2 separate regions of the Homo sapiens genome follow, and region 2 is linked to region 1. Evidence: promoter capture Hi-C in 16 types of primary human blood cells and fetal thymus (Javierre and others, 2016). All regions are on one chromosome and are shown on one strand. The core of a region is centred on a gene start or on the middle of the fragment in contact, and the rest is flanking DNA. Distances in the headings are between cores, read along the strand shown. Region 1 holds the start of NEK7 (NIMA related kinase 7). Region 2 overlaps PTPRC (protein tyrosine phosphatase receptor type C).

The links. Contacts are between HindIII fragments. The CHiCAGO score rates a contact against its expected background, and 5 or more counts as called.
Region 2: a contact is called between a fragment that was not itself captured here and the fragment with the promoter of NEK7 in region 1, in 17 of 17 cell types (naive CD4 T cells, naive CD8 T cells, total CD8 T cells and 14 more). The highest score is 18.8, in naive CD4 T cells.

The regions. Positions count from the first base shown.
Region 1 is chr1:198,154,432-198,159,772 of GRCh38, reverse strand. It overlaps NEK7 (NIMA related kinase 7), which reads right to left and starts at 2,775. Exons shown (of 10, transcript NM_133494.3): 1 at 2,497-2,775. RefSeq lists enhancers at 291-510, 2,050-2,099, 3,530-3,589 and a silencer at 2,340-2,939. The HindIII fragment of the contact is 2,805 bases long and covers 863-3,667 here.
Region 2 is chr1:198,687,191-198,692,531 of GRCh38, reverse strand. It overlaps PTPRC (protein tyrosine phosphatase receptor type C), which reads right to left. Exons shown (of 33, transcript NM_002838.5): 3 at 159-185. Among named protein-coding and RNA genes, the nearest start is that of PTPRC-AS1, 23 kb to the right of the region's middle. The HindIII fragment of the contact is 971 bases long and covers 2,614-3,584 here.

The DNA.
Region 1 (5,341 bases), core at 1,526-4,025:
TTTCCTCATTCTTTGGGTAAGTGCTGTTTTACTGGGATGGAAATGAACTCGAAATTGTCCAGACAGGAAAATATGAAAGGGGGAAAGCAATGGTGGGTGCTACATGTATTATCTAAATAAATAAACCTAAATACTAGTTCAGACTATAAAATGAGTCTGTACGCTTAGAAATAAAGTTAGTCTTGTTAAATTGGTAAGATTTTTAACCATGGAAAGATTCCCAAGAAGTTGTGAAAACGCCTAACGATTTAGATTCTGACATTTAGTGGTTTTCATTTTCAGGTAATTTCAGAGTAAAACCCGCCTCAGTCACATGGACTATATTTAGTCTGCTGACCAACTTCGCTTCTAATCTACTATAAACTTTCAGTAGTAGTTAAGTTCTAGGTGCAGCTGAATCACGAAACGGGACACCTAGGATGGCTCAGGGAAAACTGAAGCCCCCCTCCTCCTTCCTTCCTTCCTTCCTTTCTTTCTTTCTCCAGGCTGGCCCTCAGCCTGGCGCCCCTTCCGCAGACATCCCTAGAAAAAGAACTAACGCGGCCTTCTCCGAGCCCAGGGCTGGAGTAGGAAGTACCCGCCCTCCCGAACGCGAGGTCCTGGCTGCGCATTGGCTGCGAAGGCCGTCAGTACTCCGGAGGGCGGAGCCTCCCGGCACCCAGCGGAATTTCAGGCCCGCACCTCCGGGAGGGTCCTCCGGGCTCCCGGGCTCCTTCCTCCCCCTTAACACTACCCCCGCACACACACCGGCCCCGAGAAGGCAACTAGCCTCCTCAAACGGTTCCTTTGCCTTTTTATTTCGCAGGCCTTCCTCTCACCCCATACAGTTACTGCCCCTTTGACTCCTCCGAGAGGCAAAGCTTTTTCAAAGCTCTAACACCTCTCCCCTACCCCAGCAAGTTCCCCGTGCGAGACCAAATAGAGGATGCCGCTGTTCTAAGAGTGAAGCAAGCTGTGGACTGGATCTCGCCGAGGGAGAGAGAATTCCTTCCTCTGGAAATAAAATAACTGCTGAGATTTTAAGTTAGCTGTTTCAAGAGCACTTGGCCATCACCAAGTGTTACAAACCAAGAATACTCAGCGGCCATTCAACAAGAGTTGCCACAAAGCATTAGAGGGTTAACTGTATCTCCTGTTTTACTGTTCACCGTTTTCAGGGTTTGACCGGTTGTCCCAAACATACTGTAGCTTTTGAGTGCAAGGACTATGCCATTCTTCGACCACACCACCAGCAGCTCAAGGTCCTGAACAGAACATATTTATAATACACATACTCTGTACTTTAATTCTCTAATGCAACCTGACAAGACATACTGCTGTCGCCTGGAGGGAGTGTGCATAGCCTTGAAACTGTAAATTCCTTGGAGGAGGAACTAGAAACAGTGGTTCCCATTATGATGGGTACATTAGGCTCTACAAACTATGGAAATGTGGTGTTTTCAATTGCATCCTTGAGCTCAGTAACCTCAAAGGAGAATAATCATTTTATTTCTGTGTATTTCTGATTTTCAGTTCAGTCACCAGAATTGCGCAAGGACAGTAACATGTATCTTACTGTAAACTAAGTATATTTTTTAGCATTTCTCCCCAGTGAGGACTACAGCAAGGTGAGAACACGATACATCATCTCTCCGCGACCCCAGTACGCTCCCAGTGCAAGACTAAATAGAGGATGCTGCGGTTTTAGGAGTGAAGGCCTACAGTGTAACAGAGGCAACAGAAGTTCTTTAGCTCTCAAGGCAGCATCCTCTAGGTTGTGCTCGCTTCCTTACACTGTTCTGCGGTCATACGGTCTTGTCACTTTTCTCTGTTTTCCTTTGGCTACCCTTCTCTGACTTTGGCCTCAGTTTTCAATTTCTTTTCCATTGCCACCATCACCAGCAATGTTCGCTATTGCCTCGCAATCCCTCTCTCCGACATTTTGTAATCCCGAGTCTCTCCCAAGTTCATTCTCCGACAGACCTCTCACGCTCCCTGTACTTCTGAAGCCACTTCGGATTCTCCCCTATCTGCCGGCTCCCACCACCCACTCTCTCCCAGCGCACTTCACTTTCCTAAGTCGGGCTGCTGCCGAATCCTGACAGACGGACTTCACCAATCCGCGAGAGATAAATAACCGACGTCGCCAATGAGCATCCGCCGGAAGGCGGGACTTCGCTTAAGTTCCTCGGGTCCCGAAACCAAAGACCTGTTGCCGCCGCCGCCGTGGCCACGGAGTTTCTTAGTTACCGCGGCGCCCTTGGCGGCCTCGGGCCTCTAGAGCCGGGGCCAGGTATGAAGTTTCCTGCCGCCCCCTCCCACCGCTGCCAACGAACAAGACCGAAACCCCCATCCGCCTCGAGCGCAGCGCGCCCCGCCCCACCTACCCCGAGCGAGGGTATCCCGGAGGCCGCCCCGCGCGGTCCCGACCTCCCTCTCCCGGCCCGACTCCCGCAGGCGGCCCCTCCCGGCAGGAGCTGCCCGGTCCGGGCGCCTGAACCCTGGGCAGCGACTCACCAGGAAGTTGGGAGTTTTCCGTTCTCCCGCCCGCGAGAGACCTTGGGCGGGCGGGTGGCTCGGCGCGGCGCCGCCGTCGGAAAGCGCGCTGGGCCGGGGGCTGAGGCTGCGAGGCCCGGAGCCTGTCGGCCACCTCCCGCCGCGCCGCCCCGGCGGACGCTGCAGGCGCGGGGCACCCACCCTGCGCACTGCGAGGCGCGTCCGGAGTGCGAGCCTAGCGGCGGCCCATCCTCCCGCGACTCCCGATCCTCCTCCTGCTGCCGCCGCTGTCAGGAGTGTAAACATCCCGGCATCCCCGAGGAGAGGGGCGGGGCGGGCGCCGGCCCCACCCCGCGTCGTGAGTCCAGGCCGGCTGCCCGATGGAGGCTTCCCGCCTGCGTCCCCGGCGCTCCCTGGAGCTGGGGGAGCCTCGGCGGTTTCCCTACTGGAGCCGAAGTCGCTCTGGAGGAGCCCCTCCTGGCCCCTCTCTTCCGGTTGTCAGGCCTAGCGTGGTGCGGGGCACCGCGTCCGGTCCCCTGAGCCCTCTTCCCCGGCTGCTTTTTAAGAACCCAGGGTCGGCTGCTTTTTAAGAACTTGTTTTTTCTTCATTTATATGTAAGTGCCCCCACTTGCAAGCGGTGAACCGACTTACTGATGTTCCCTTCTGGACCACAGCGTTTGTGATCCCATCTTCTTTTACCAGGTGATTTAAACTACCTCTGTGTTTAATGTGGAGTGCAGGGAAATGAGAAAAAAAAAAAAAGGCGTTTTCCTGAGTCTGGCTAAGCAAACGTTGCATGAAAGTGTCCCAGCATAGAGGACAGGGGCTTCAACAACATTCCAGAAGGTAAACTCCCTGGTGTGGTACGGAGGATCTTTGAAATAAATATGTGCAAAATCACCCAGAACCCTAGTACACGAAACTGCAAAAGGAATGCTTTGACACCAGCAGCTTCACGACTTAAGTTAACAGGGCATGAACTACTCGAGGAGACGGCTAGGAGGCAGTATGGAGTCGGCCATACCTTAATTGTCGTCTCAACTCAGTGATTAATTTTGTGACCTGGCTGCAAGTTATTTAACCTCTCCAAGTCTCAGTAACTCTCTGTAAAAGGAGATTAGTTGTAATACCAACCTCTAGGACCATAGTTAGAATTAAGTGAGATAAAGCAAAGTGCTTAACCACAAAGCTTGGCATATAAGACGTGCTCATTAAATTGTTGCTGTTGTTCATAGGTCTCTCACTAGTTTAACTTCCCTGACAAAAAGATTAGAGCCAAGAATGAGTAGATTATACCTCAAACATTTAAAATGTTAAAGCCATGAAATTAAGATCTGGAAAGTTTATTTTTAAAAAGAAAAATGGCCGGGCGCAGTGGCTCATGGCTGTAAGCCTAGCATTTTGGGAGGCCAAGTGGGGGGGGGGGTGATCACCTGAGGTCAGGAGTTCGAGACCAGCCTGGCCAACATGGCGAAACCCTGTCTCTACTAAAAATACAAAAACTAGCCGAGCGTGGTGGCAGGAGTCTATAATCCCAGCTACTGGGGAGGCTGAGGCAAAAGAATCGCTTGAACCCGAGGCGGGGAGGAGGTTGCAGTGAGCAGAGATCGCGTTACTTCACTCCAGCGTGGGTGAAAGAGCGAAAATCCGTCTCAAAAAAATAAATAAATAAATGAAAACGTTCACGATCTCAAAAGGAGGCCTTGATTCATGTGGCTCAACAAATATTCATAAATGGGCTAGGCAATGTTCTAAGGAATGAGGATACAACAGCTCACCGAGATATACAGTGCCTGCTGTCATAGAGCTTATATTGTAGTCGGAAAGGCCAAAAAAAAAAAAAAGCCAATAAATACCTACTATGCCAGATGGTGAGTCATAGAAAAATAAAGCAGGGTAGGGAGACATGGGGAGGGAGGATGCTATTTTAAATATGTTTGTCTGGGAATGCCTCTCTGACATTTGAGCAGAGAACTAAGGAAGTGAGAAATTAGCCATTTGGCTACCCAGGGTTAGAATATTTTACACAGAAGGATCAGCAAATGCAAAGACCCTAAGTGGAAGTGGGCTTGGCATGTTTGAGAAATAGGCAGGAGGTCAGTGTAGGCTAGAATTCAGTGAGCGGTGGGAAAGCAGCTGACTAAATCAGAAGAGGGAGTAGGGTACAAGAAGGGTATAGTTGTAGAATCTTGTAACCTTTAAAATTTATTCTGAATGAAAAGGAGAGCCATTGGAGGAGTGACCAAATCTGATTTGGGTTGGGAGAGAAGAGCTGCACTGTGGAGAACAGATTGAGCCTAAGAGCAACTAGATGTTAGAAGACTATTGTAATGATCCAGGTAAAATACATTGATGACAGACCAGAGTGCAGGTGGTAAAAATGGTGAGATTCCATTTCTAAGAGCAAACAAGATTTGCTGATGTATTGAATGTCAGGTAAGAAAGGAGGCAAGAACAAAGCCAATGAAATTGGCATTTGAACCAGATCATTTTATCAGGTCACACCAAATCAAATCTGTCAGTCAATAGAAACAGTGTCACTGGCGTCATACACAGGCACACATTGCAGGAAAAAAATAACCAGATATCCTTAGGGTAAAGACATGTCAACCTCAGACCAGACGTATGTGTAAGGTTTTTTTCTGTTTGTTTTGGGTTTTTTTTTTGTTTTTTGTTTTTTGTTTTTTTGGAGACAGCCTCTCGCTCTGTCACCCAGGCTGGAGTGCAGTGGCGTGATCTCAGCTCACTGCAACTTCCACCTCCCAGGTTCAAGTGATTCTCCTGCCTCAACCTCTTGAGTAGCTGGGATTACAGGCATGTGCCGCCACACCTGGCTAATGTTTGTATTTTTAGTGCAGACAGGGT
Region 2 (5,341 bases), core at 1,850-4,349, 530 kb before region 1:
CAGAAAGTTTAAGAACAAGTGAATGTCAAGAATCACTCATGATTATAAAATTTATCCTTAAAAATAATTTCAGTGTTAATAATAGAAAATTGTAGTTAAATATATAAACTTTGCAACAAGAAAATAAAATTAGTAAAAATATAAATATTAATTCTTACCAGTGGGGGAAGGTGTTGGGCTTTGCCCTGCAAAGAAGAAACAAAAATCTCTTAGAAAATTTCAAATTTCATTCATATTAATGTAAACATATATTAGATTTTTATATGTACCTCAAGTCTATGATAGAACATTCACCAAGTGGCAATTTTCAGTAGCTTTTACCCTAATGAAACTATATTTCCTCTCTTAGTACCATGTTTACAAAGCCCAAATATATCAAAATTATGTTATTTATTTTTTGAATCCCCAGGCTAAATCAGAAACATAACAGACTAAAGGATCACTATTGGGATTAATTTCAAGCCTGCAAAAGACTTTTGAAAAACTTTTGAAACTTTTTTTTCCCAAATGCATTATTTATTTAGATAATGATGATTAATTGAGCACCTATTTTGTGCTAGACATTATGCCACATGCTAGGGATATAATATGACCAACATATAAAAATTCCCTGCCCTCAATGAGCTCAATTTAGTGTGAGATATAAACAAAAACAATCAATCAATACAGTGTGATGACAGGTGATACAGAATGTGCTAAAGGAGAACATAACAGGATCATCTTATTTATATTTCCAGAGTTGGTGGTTGGCTGGTAAAGGAGTTGATACAGAGGGTTTCTTGGATGTATTTAAGCTACAACCTAAAGGATTGCATATAGCTAGCTTGGTCCCAGAAGAATAAGAAGCTGGGATTTATCTTACAGGCTTTAGATATCCATTAAAGGGATGTCTTTAAAGGGAGGCCTAAAGGAGAAACATTTGAATTTTAGATCAACCTTTCAGGAAATGGAAAATGGATTATTAAAGAGCAAAGGTGGGGGCAGGAAAATCAGGAGACCAAAACCAAAGCAAAACAGACAGAGATGATGTCCTACGTAGGAAGAGTATACCCCAAAAGAAAGGTTGGGGGAAAAGGACCTATGAAACACTCAAGAATCACCAAGACTTTGTAAATCCTTTCAAGTGAGAATAAAGGAGAAAGAGTAATAAGGAAAATATCTAGATTGATAGTTTAACATGCTAGTGAGTTATAGTTTCACTGAACTTGAGAGTAATAAACAGTGAGTAGAGAGGTGAATCAGAATTTGCTTGAGATTTCATGTGAAAATGTATAATAGCATTTGAATATAGAGGTTTGTAGCTCATGACATACATCTGGGCTGATGCTATAGATCAGCATATAGATACATTTTGCAGCTACAGAGGTGAAGGAGATCACCGAACTACATAAAAGAGAAGTGTCCAGGATAGAATCCTGAAGTTCAGTGAATATTAAGGAGAGAGCCAGCATAGGTAATCAAATTTTCCAAGTAAGAGGAAAACTGTAGCAAACAAGAATAAAGAGTAGAGGGTGTTTCGAGAAGGAAATGGTTGAAGTCAAATAATATGGGGATTCACATGCAGGATAAACATGGTGCATTAACATGGGTCAACTGGATTTATCATCTGGGTTTGTGGAAATGTTGAAAAGAGCAGCTTTCTTGGCATGATGGGAACTAGATTCAGTCTACAGTGAAGTGCAATGTTTTCATCCCTCATCTTAGTAAATGCCTATTTAAAAGATTGTAAAGTTCTTTTCCAAATGACTGTAAACTCAGGTTGTTAAAGAGAATCAGAGATCAGATGGGAAAGTGAATTAGCTGGTACTTAAGGTGACTTTCTGCCTTTATATTTTATCTTCTGAGAACAAACTGATGTGAAAACATTTTCTTCCTTCAGAGTTGCCATCCAAGGAGCATCACCCCGTATTCTTCAATGACATTCCCTGGCTTATTCCTTGAAGTAAAATGCATTTTTGATATATATATTTTTATATCATTGATGGGTGATACATAATTATTAACATAATGACTTTCTTGTTTTCTCATTACATTTCTCTTTTTCTTAATAATTCATACTTAAATATTGTTTTTAATTGATATTGTTTGTACTTTTGTCCCTTTTCTTATCTAGTTAGCTTTTATCTTTCTGTTTCATGTAAACTATTGTTATGTTTATGTTCCCATTAACAGCATTCCGCTCTCCTTATTTGTTCTTATTTCCTTGTAAATTACAGTCTTAGAATTGTGTTGATTTGCAAAAGAGGTAATAAGAAAAAAATATTAGTATAGCAATAACTAATAGCTCTCATGTTTGAAGTGAAAGGAAAAGTGTCCTTCATTGTTTGTGAAGAACAAAACATATCACCAAATTTAAAATATTCAAATTGTTTTTGAGTGTGTGAACATACTTTATACAACACATATCTCTTCTTTATCTGAGAAATACATGAGCTCTTACATATCTAAAATTAGGTTGATATGCCCCTTCTCATGCAAGCACCTCATTCCTTGGAACTTGAAACAAGTTAATTTAGTTCACTTAGGTTCAAGAAACATACATTGTTTTGCTGGTATGCTGTTGGAGACTAGGTTCAAACATGATAAAAGCATGACCCTTGCCCTGGATAAGCTTATAACCCATAAAACACATATATCTAGTCATCTGCAATGACATTTTAGTCATGGATACACCTGATTAAGACTAATAATCAAAATTTCTCGCATCAACATCAGCATGAATCACATAATAAGATGAGGAAGAGGAGGAGAAGAAAGAGAAATAGCTGTAGCAAAGAGTCTTGTGTATAAGAAGTGATTGATAAGTAATTGCTGGATTCTTTTAAGCATGAGTAAGTGCAAAGGAGAAATCAAACAGATCTGATGATAACAGCTTTAGGAGAAGAGCCAAGGAGCAAGCACTGTAGGCCTTGAAAAGGAGCTTGAACTTTTTCCTCAGAATGACGGAAGCCATTGGATCAGTTAATACAGAGGAGAAATCAGAAAGCAAATTTGATGACAGAGAAAAGAGAAATCTTAATGTTACCTGCACCACTAATTCCACAGACCCCTATATTCTGTTGTTCTGATTTACTACTTTGTTGTCACCAAAATGTGTAGCACCAACTATAGATAGAGTTTCATAAAAGAAAATTATAATTCATCATCTGTTTACCACAGAAATGAGAAGAAAAATGCTGGGACACTATGTGAAGCTATTTGTTTTTTAACAAAAGAACTGTGAATGCCTGAGTAAATATACTAGAACTGTTTCCAACCAGTACACTATTCATCAGACTACGTATATGTTCCATGTCTCAGAGAGATTAATAAACTTCCAAGTGGTCCAAAGGCAATACGTTTTTTAAAAGAAATACATGATGTATATTATTTTAATCTAACTTCTGAAAAGAAGGACAAGAGGTAAATTACCAAAACGGAGAAGACTGTTTCTAATGATTTACTTTTTTAAAGAATAATTTAGAAATAATATTTTATTGTTATTAATTGTTAATATTTATTGAGTGTTTACTGGGTGCCAGGCACTATACTAAGTCTTTTGCTTATGTTTTCTTTCTTAAGCACCACAAAAACCCTAAGAAGCTTAGAAAAGTCAAGTGTCTTGGCCAAGTTCACAAGGCCAGTCTAGTATATGTGAGCCAGACTTGAACCTGAGCCTGTCTGACTTTACAGGCCATGCTCTCATTCATCAGGCGTCCCCTTTTCCCATCAACTTGTCCTTACAGCCTTTCCTCTTCATATGAAATTTTAAGCATGAGAATTCTTTTACAGAAGGTGTTTATTAAAAACTCATGAGCTAAGTAAAAATGCATCTTAATCATAATTTGGCTGCAAGTAAATTACTAGTAGTGCTACAAATGCTAAAATAACCTTGACCCTAAAAATAGATATGCAGATTAAATCACAATGTGCTGAGTGAATGCTCTATAATGGTACAAACAAATATTAGAGAAAATTTAGAGGTGTGTCAAGTTAATTTATTACAGAATACTATTTTGACAGGAAAGTCAACCAAACTACACTAATATCAAGCACAATTATTAAAATTTACAGACCTTTTGTTTAGATGTTAAGAGGTTTCTGGAGCTAGAGGACAGAATAATGGGCATACATATACATTTTTTTCTGATCTCATCATCGCTCCATATTCAAAATTTCCTCGAATCTTTTCATCTTTAATGCAGCAAAATTTAATATCCTGGAAAACAGTATAATATCTAAAGAGCCAACATTTTCCTTTCTTCTATGTTCATGCTTACTTCCCATAAAGGCCTCTTGAATTGAATATGTGTTTGCTTGTACACTGATTTATCACTGGATATGATTCTAAATTCCTCCACTGAGTGATTTTTAGGTGACACTAAAACATTGTAATCTATGTTTTATTTCATTTTTATATACTATTTCAAATATGTGCGTGCACACACACACAGACACACACACACACACACACCCCACACACCATTTTATCTTTTTAAAAGAAAATTCCAAGACTTCAGCATCACTGTTTAGACTTAGTGTAAGACTCAACTTGCTTGTTCTCATGGTCATAAAATCCCTATAAACAGATTTTTAGTTTTGGTAACACTTTTAGTCAACATGATAAATGACATAAAAATGTTTTCGTGCCTGAAAAAAACACATAGAATCTATTTAAAATAAAAATTTTAAATTAAAAACTACTTTAAAATTTAAGCCAATGCCCCTAAGGAAATAAGGTATGCACTAGAGTGATGCAACTTAAAGCAACATATCAATTTTAATAAGCCATGTGCACTAGATTACATAAATCTATTTTTCAGTCTTTTTAATGTTAAACATTTTACCAGTCTTAAAGTAGGAACACGCTAAATGTGACCTATATAAAATAGCTTAGTTAAAACACCTACGTAACATCTAAAGGACATTCCCCACACCCCGCCCCCCCAGTCATCTAATGATTTTTACATCAACGTTAGCAGAACACTAACAAATACTTTGGTGGAGAATGCCTTTATATATGAAACAAGGTAGGGAGTAGGTGAAGGTACTTAACTATTTAGAGAAAACTATAAAACCAAATATCTGCAATAATTTATTAATTCTCTATCATATTTTAATTCTTCCTAAATTACATGAGCAATGACTTCAATTGTCTGTTGCACTTCATATGTGCAAACATTATTAAACATTACCAAAATCATAGATAGAAGCCACTGTGCTGAATCTTCACTGATAGAAAAAAAAGACCTGATGAGATTGGTTGTGGCCAGGTGCAATGGTTCACACCTGTAATCCCAGAACTTTGGGAGGGAGAGGCAGCTGGATCGCTTGAACCAAGCAATCCAGTCTGGGAAACATG